Linked DNA regions of Homo sapiens: region 2 is linked to region 1. The links are contacts of gene promoters, found by promoter capture Hi-C in human tissues and cell types (Jung and others, 2019). All regions are on one chromosome and are shown on one strand. Each heading gives the region's core, a stretch centred on a gene start or on the middle of the fragment in contact. The rest is flanking DNA. Distances are from core to core; before and after follow the strand shown.

The links. The method cuts DNA at HindIII sites, captures the fragments that hold promoters and counts their contacts. A contact is called where the count stands out against the background at its distance.
Region 2: a contact is called between a fragment that was not itself captured here and the fragment with the promoter of APOD in region 1, in 2 of the 25 tissues and cell types used here (bladder and psoas muscle).

What each region holds. Positions count from the first base shown.
Region 1 is chr3:195,581,478-195,585,252 of GRCh38, reverse strand. It overlaps APOD (apolipoprotein D), which reads left to right and starts at 1,313. Exons shown (of 5, transcript NM_001647.4): 1 at 1,313-1,375. RefSeq lists an enhancer at 1,693-1,862. The HindIII fragment of the contact is 4,834 bases long and covers 1-1,793 here.
Region 2 is chr3:195,623,031-195,627,143 of GRCh38, reverse strand. No RefSeq gene overlaps it. Among named protein-coding and RNA genes, the nearest start is that of APOD, 41 kb to the right of the region's middle. RefSeq lists an enhancer at 2,173-3,169. The HindIII fragment of the contact is 8,411 bases long and covers 1-4,113 here.

The sequences.
Region 1 (3,775 bases), core at 64-2,563:
AAAGGAGAGAATTTCAGGTAAAGATATAATGAAGCAGGGAAAGGGACAGTGACAAGAGTGCTATTTTTGAAAGGTCAGGAAGCTTTTTAGGGAAAAGTGTCATCTGATCAGGGACCTGGAGTGGGGAAGGGAGCTACACAGAGCTCTTAGGGGAGGGCAGCACAGGAGGTCAGCGAGAGGCAGGCCCTGGGTGGTAGTAGGAATTTCTTATGTTTCTGAAAAGGCAAAGAACATCTTAAAGAAAGCGCTCACAACGTTTGGGATGTTACGGATCTGTGTTGTTGTTTTCATGTTTATAGACTCAGTGCTGTAAATGTATCTCTGTTGCTTACATATTTTAGAATGAATTTCATTTAGGAGTCTAAGTCTACTACGAAGGCACTGCCTTATCTAAATGTCTCTAAACATACCTCCTGCCTATCACAAAGACATAGAATCTCACTCACAAGAGTCAAAGTTGTTCATTCCACCAGGAGAGATAAGGCTGGACCAAAAGCACCCCTGGGTTTAAGTCCACACTCCCCACCACCCCGGCCCCCACCCCCAAGCAGTGACAGACTGTCTTGAACTTCTCGCTGCAAGGGTCATAAAAGGGACAGAGAACAGAGCGACAGAAGATGTCTTCTGCATTCTCAACTTTTAGCCCCAGTTGTTAGAGAACTGGTATCTCCCCTACACGTCTGGCTCTGGTGGAGAAAGAATGACAGCCCCTACTTACAACGAGGAGACTGTGGCTCAGAGAAGTTAGGGGGCTGCCCAGGATCCTGGAGAAAGCCAGCTTTGACTCATAACCCTCGCGCCATTACCTGACTCCCATTAGTGGAGTCAGGAACTCCATGTTCCACTTCAGGAAATGAGCTTGTTGATTTTTCATTTACACAAAAATGAAAAATAAATACCAGATGTTTGAAAACATGTTGCAACACGTCCTGCTGGAACTTAAAAGTGCATTCTGACCAAAAAAATTAAATTAGAAAATCCACATAGCAAAAAAAAAAATGTTTTGGATGAAAATATACTTTATCTTTCTCTCACACATACTCTCTCTCTCTCTCGCACACATACCCACACACACACACACACACACACACGCGCGCGCGAAAACAATATCTCATTTCTTCTTCAGGGAGCAGCTGTGAAGGAAATCGGGGGAGGAGGATGGACACAACATCCCATCTTTGTGTTTCGATACAGACTAAGCTTTTAGGCCAACCCTCCTGACTGGATGGGGGCGGCGGGCGTGGCATGCATGAAAAGTAAACATCAGAGACCTGAAGAAGCTTATAAAATAGCTTGGGAGAGGCCAGTCACCAAGACAGGCATCTCAAATCGGCTGATTCTGCATCTGGAAACTGCCTTCATCTTGAAAGAAAAGGTATGTACTGTAGTTTTAAGCTTTTCATTTATGATAATAATGTCTAAAATAGAAACAGTCTAGACTCTCCATTGCCCCATTTCAGCTACATATAACTACCACTGATTGAGAGCTTGTGCCGGTAGCTTTAGACTTGTTCTCATTTTTCCTCAAACAAATGTACAAGGTAGGTATCATCAGAGCCATTTTTCCAGTGATAAAGCTGAGGTTCAGATACACTAGCAACATGCCTAAGATAAAACCAAACCCAGTGTGAACTCATCCCAGCGTCTTTTGCTTACCCCTCCAAACTGGACAACGAGGTGTTTCCATGCACAAACACCGTCCTAGGTGAATTCTCAGCAAGCTGTCCAACGGTGCATCGCAGTAAAATAATCTGGAAACTGGAATTAATGGTGTGACTAGAAAATGCATTTGACAATATGGCATAAAATATTGTGTTTGGGAGATACGTGTCTTGTTATATTTAATGGCTAAATGAGTCTTTGAGACCTAATGACTTATTGGAACCTATTTTATTTTATGAGGTGAAATTTCAAAATCTAGTCCTTCACGTTCTGCAGATCTTTGAGGTCAGGGGCTGTGTCCCCAGGCACTAAGAGCGCGGGCTTGTGGGAGACCTAGGCTTACATTCTAGCCTGTCCCCAGGCCTAGGCTTACACTGTGGCTTCGTAGTTTACCAGGAAGTAACCCGGGCAAATTCACCTCGTTGGTATGAAGAGAGTGTCAGCAGAGGTCGCCTCCAGAGGAGGTGCTGTGGAGACTGAGCGCATAGCACCCTTAAAATCCTGGGACCAGGGCTTCTCCACGGGTAAGCTTAATGCAAGTGGAGCAGTGATTTCCAGCTAGTGCCAGGCCCAAGGTGGATGCACTGTCACCTTAGTTGGATTGCTTTTTAATTACCTCATATTCTGTTAAAAATCATATTTCTTTTTTTTTTTTTTTGAGACGGAGTCTCACTCTGTCACCCAGGCTGGAGTGCAGTGGCGCGATCTCGGCTCACTACAGCCTCCGCCTCCCAGGTTCAAGCCATTCTTGTGCCTCAGCCTCCCAAGTAGCTGGGATTACAGGACTGCACCACCATGCCCAGCTAATTTTTGTATTTTTTGTTTGTTTGTTTTTGTTTTGTTTTTTTGAGATGGAGTTTTTGCTCTGTTGCCCAAGCTAGAGTGCAATGGTGTGATCTTGGCTTACTGCAACCTCTGCCTCCCATGTTCAAGCAATTATCCTGCATCAGCCTCCCGAGTAGCTGTGATTACAGGTACTTGCCACCACACCTGGCTAATTTTTTGTATTTTTAGTAGAGACGGGGTTTCGCCATGTTGGCCAGGCTGGTCTCAAACTCCTAACCTCAAGTGATCTGCCCACCTCGGCCTCCCAAAGTGTTGGGATTACAGGCATTAGCCATCATGCCCGGCCAAAAATAATATTTAAATTATACTTATTTTGTAAAGTATTTAAACTCCTCATAAGAACAATCTTCCTATTGATATCAGAAGAAGATGCAAAAATATATGTCGTATATAATCCATATGTTACCCAAAGTCTTAAGTACACATTAATAACATGCTCAATAAGTAATGAGTAAATTAGAATGAAAGGACATTGAAAACTATAATGGATGCTGTCCGCCCTTTCTCTCACAAGGAGTTTTTTTGTTGTTGTTGTTTGTTTGCTTGTTTTGAGACGGAGTTTTGCTCTTGTTGCCCAGGCTGGAGTGCAATGATGCAATCTCAGCTCACCACAACCTCCACCTCCCGGGTTCAAGCAATTCTCCTGCCTCAGCCTCCCGATTACAGGCATGCATGTAATTACAGGCAGCATGGGATTACAGGCATGCACCACCATGCCCAGCTAATTTTTTTATTTTTAGTAGAGATAGGGTTTCTCCATGTTGGTCAGGCTGGTCTTGAACTCCCAACCTCAGGTGCTCCACCTGCCTCGGCCTCCCATGGGATTACAGGCTTGAGCCACCGCACCTGGCATCACAAGGAGTTTTAACCACAGGAATAAAACTAATGTAACCAAGAGGCATCTTTGGAAGAGGGTCAGTCAAAGGGGTTGTTCTGAAATCCTCCTACTGAGGTAAAGAATCTGTTTCAGCTCACAAGAGAGCATTTTGTCAGAGTAAGATGTAGAACTGACTTTTGTTGCAGTGTCATGTGGTGGTGAGACTCATCAGGTCACAGAGGTGGGGGGTTATTGAAAGGCCCTATGGCGGTGCACAGAAGAAGCAGATTCGGGGTGCTGCAGACAGGAGAGGGGGAGATGGAGCTCGAGTCCCAGCTCTCTGCCCCTTCCAGGCCCCAGCTTCCCCATCTGTACACCTTGGAAGTAGAGCTAGAAAGATGACCTCTAAGGTCCTATCCAGTGTGGGGACCTTGTGGAATGTGCATAGTG
Region 2 (4,113 bases), core at 294-2,793, 42 kb before region 1:
CAGAAGAAGATTCTCAGAATGAAGGACAGAAGCATAAGGAGGAAAATAGAGAGAGCAAGTGTGAGGGACTGAACCGCGTCCTCCCAGAATGCCCATGCGGAAGCCTGGCTTAGTTCTGGCTGCCATAACAAAATGCCATAGACTGGGGGCTCAGAAACAACAATGCATTTCTCACAGCTTTGAAGACTGGGGAGTCTCAGATCAAGGTACCGGCAGATTCCGTGTGTGGTGAGGACCGGCTTCCCTGGTGTGTCACTGCGTCCTCACATGGGGGATGGGGGAGGGGCGCTCTGGGGCCTCTTTTATGAGGACACCGATCCCATGATCAGCGGTCCACCTTCAGGACCCCGTCCCTACCACAGGCCCCATCTCCTAACACCATCGCCTTGGGGGTGAGGATTTCAACAGATGAATTTCGGGGAACACGGACATTCAAACCCTCACAAAGCCCCACCCACCAAGGAGAGTCTGTCTGGAGAGAAGACATTAGGGAGGTAATTAAGGTGAAGTGCAGCCAGCAGGGTGGGGCCCTGATCCGATAGGACTGGAGTCCTTATGAGAAGAGGAAGAGACACCAGATTGCGTGCGTGTGTGTGCATGTGTGCGTGTGTGTGCACGTGTGTGTGCGCGTGTGTGCATGTGTGTGCACGTGTGTGCGCGTGCACATGCGTGTGCACAGAGAAAAGGCCTTGTGCACACAGGGAGCAGGTGGCCCTCCACAAGCCAGGAAGAGAGGCCTCACTAGACTAACCCTGTCCCTGTGTTGATCTTGAACTTGCAGCCACCAGGGTTGTGGAGCCCCTGGTCTGTGGTGCTGGCTTATGGCAGCCCTACTGCCCCAGTGAGATGGGAAGAGACAGCAGACACAATGAGAAGACACCACACGTGAGTAACTGGAGTTCTGGGAAGGAGAGAAAGAATAGGCAAAATCAGTATTTAAAGTGGTAATGGCTTAAAATGTTCCCAAACTAACGCAAGCCACCCCGGCCCCGGTGGGCTGCTTCTGACCCTGTGACCCGGGGCTGTCACCGCAGGAGCCTCCCTGGCCGCCTGGCTATTTGCTGTCACCACGGCAGGCCTGCTGTGGCTGCCTCCCCTCTGCAGATGCCACCGGGTGCCCTGGGGAGCGGCAGGCACTTCCTTTCCCGCACTCAAGATGCCCACATTTTGAAAACCCGAGGGGGCACATTGGATTCTCCAACTACACACTTTCAAAAGCCAAATGGAATCAACCTGGGTGCCTATCAATGGATGAATGGATACAGAACACGTGGTATCTTACGCAATGGAATACTCCGCAGCCATAAACAAGAATGAAATCATGTCGTTTACAACAACATGGATGGAATTGAAGGCTGTCATGTTAAGGGAAGTAAGCCGGGGTAGAAAGACAAATGTACCATGTTCTCACTCATTTGTGGGCACTGAAAGAGTGGCTCTTACAGAGGCAGAGAGTTGGCTGGTGGTTCCCAGAGGCTAGGCAGGGTGTGTGGGTGAGAGGCAGACAGAAAGTGAGGCTGGTTATGGGGCACAAACATGCAGTCAGGTGAAGGAGTAAGTTCCAGTGTTCCATAGTACAGTTCACAGACCAAAGGCAACAATCAGTTACTGTGTATTTCTGCCTCCTCCTCCCCGGGAAGCGGCTGGCCAGTGCATCAGGGAACACAGGTCTCTTTCCTCTGTCTTCCTCCATCAGGCTCCGGAAAGCTTTCCCCAGAGAAGACGCCAGACAGCAGGGGCTGCCTCCCGGGGCTTTTGTGACCCAGCCTGTTTCTCCATCCGAGCTGCAACCTCTGGGTGGGGGTGTCTGCACCTGGGGTGTGTGAGAGAGAGTGAGTGAGGGAGCGTGCCTGTGCCTGTGTGCGTGCATCTGTGTTCCTGCGGGCTGTGCCTCTCTGTGCACGTGTGTGCAGCCATGCGTGCGTGTTCACACGTGTGGAGTGTGTGCGTGCGTCCGTGCCTGGGTGTTGCGGGTGGTGAGGCTGGCAGAGCGTCCTGACCCCTCGGGCCCCAGGCCTTGTCCCTCTTCTCCGTGTCCCAATCTTCCTTCAACCGCCCGCCCCGCCCCTGCCTTTGGTGGCCTGGAGTCCCCACCGGCTCTGGGTACTAGGGCGCCGGGCAGCGCGGGAACTAACGGGCTGAGTCTGTGGGGTCGGGATGACTGAAAACATGCCCTGTCTTCGGTTTAGGCTCAGGCGGAAACCCCCCGGGGGCCTCTGGGGGCTGCGGTCGGTGCCAGGGGTCCCGGGCAGCTGCCTGAACGCGCACAGCGGCTCCTGCCCCGCAGCCTCCGCCCCGCGCCCGCGTCCTCGGGCCGGCAGCGCCCCCTGGTGCCGCCTCGGGTCTGTGCAGGGCCGGGCGGGCTGCGCGGAGCACCTGCAGGCGCCTCCATGGGTGACGGAAGACAGAGGGGCTGACCAGGTCTTCTACAGGTCAGTGGGCGATCAACAGCTGGACGCGTAGCAGGGGGCAGCCAGGTGGCCTAAGAGAATTCAGCAAGGCCGACTGCAGGCCGAGAGTCACCGGGAACTCACCTGGAAGGAGTGGATGTGGCCGCCCCAGGACCACCCTGTTCCAGGTGCCCGGCCCCGGCCGTGGAGCCCTTGGACGTATCTGTTTCTTTAGCTGCAGCGAGCGGGGTCCCGGTGCTGAGCAGAAGACCCTGTGCTGCGGTCCCTGTGCTCCCTGGCAGCTGTGCGAGGAACTCTGACCTTTGGGGCCCCTGGGCACCTACCCTGTTGGTTCCTGCTCTGGGCTGCCGAGGGCTGGGTGCTGTGCTGTGTAAAAGGCCGTATGGACGGGGCTTCTGTGTCCCCTGAGTCAGGCACTGCACCCTTATGCTCCCCTCAGGGGCCACACCACCTGCAGTGGTCCCTGGAGAGCAGAGGAAAGGTCCCCCTGGGCCAGATGGGGGCAACTGGTGGGCATCCTGCCCACCGACTGGTTGGGGGGCCTGGCTCTGCAGGAACGGAGGGGGGGCGGGCCAGGGGCTTTCCCTCCAGGTGTGGTAACAGATCAAAGAACATCTACCCCAAACCAGACCGGACTCAGCACACACCTTACCCAGGGCTCCAAAGACACCAGAATGGGGAGTAGAGAGGGAAAGAGACCAACAGAGACAGAGAGAGGGAGAGATTCAGAGCAAGGCGGGGTGGGGTGCGGAGGAGAGGAGGAGAGACCCCGGCCCTTCTCACCTCACAGACCGCTCGGGCTAACTTGGCCCCACCCCCACCATCCACCCTCCAACCCCACCCCCACCCGCCCCCAGGGCTGAGCAGAGACCTCTGGGACATGGTCACGCACACACAGAACCTGTCCCAGAAGGCAGGACCCCGTCCCTGCCCCAGCTTCTGGCTGGCAGGGCTGTGTCAATGACTTCTGGCCAAGCAACCCCAGGAAATGGCATTCCGTGGGGTCAGGTGGCTCCTCAGTGCCTTTTCCTGGCTTTTCATGTAAAATCATGGCAGGCAGCATCGGGAAGTGTCCCACACCTCTACAAGCTCAGGGGGTGGCCACCTTTACCCACAGAGCCAAAACGTGGGCGCAGGCTCCCCTCTGCAGTGGATGCGCTGAGGGCACACCCAGGCCCCGGCCCCCTCAGCGGCATCAGAGCAGCACACAGGGCCCGGTGAGGGTGGCCTCCACCCCTCCACCACACCAGGCATGGCTCGGAGCCAGGCCGGAGGGAGGGCGTCAGCTCTGCAATGCATCCAGTAGTTTCCACCCTTGGCTGTGAAGAGCGGCGTTTCCTGACAGAAGTTTCTAGCACATGTATGCTGGCGAGGATGCGGTCGTCTACTTGCTGGGCACACACTGTGCCAGGCTGAGTGGAGGCCCCCAAAGATGTGCAGCCCCGCAAACCTGTGAGTGCCGCCTCAGATGGCAACATGATGACAGGTCTGGAGCGGGGAGAGTCTCCCGGGTCACCCACCTGCACCCTGTGCTGGGCCAGGTAGTGCCCCCCACCCCACCAAGATTCACATCCCTTCTCCGGGGAAGACGTGCGCGATGTGACAGCCCGTGAGTCCGTCCATTCCGGGGACACTATGGGGGTCACTGCGGGGGGCGGGCAAACAGAGGTGCTTCAGCCCACACAAACAAGCTAATTGAGTT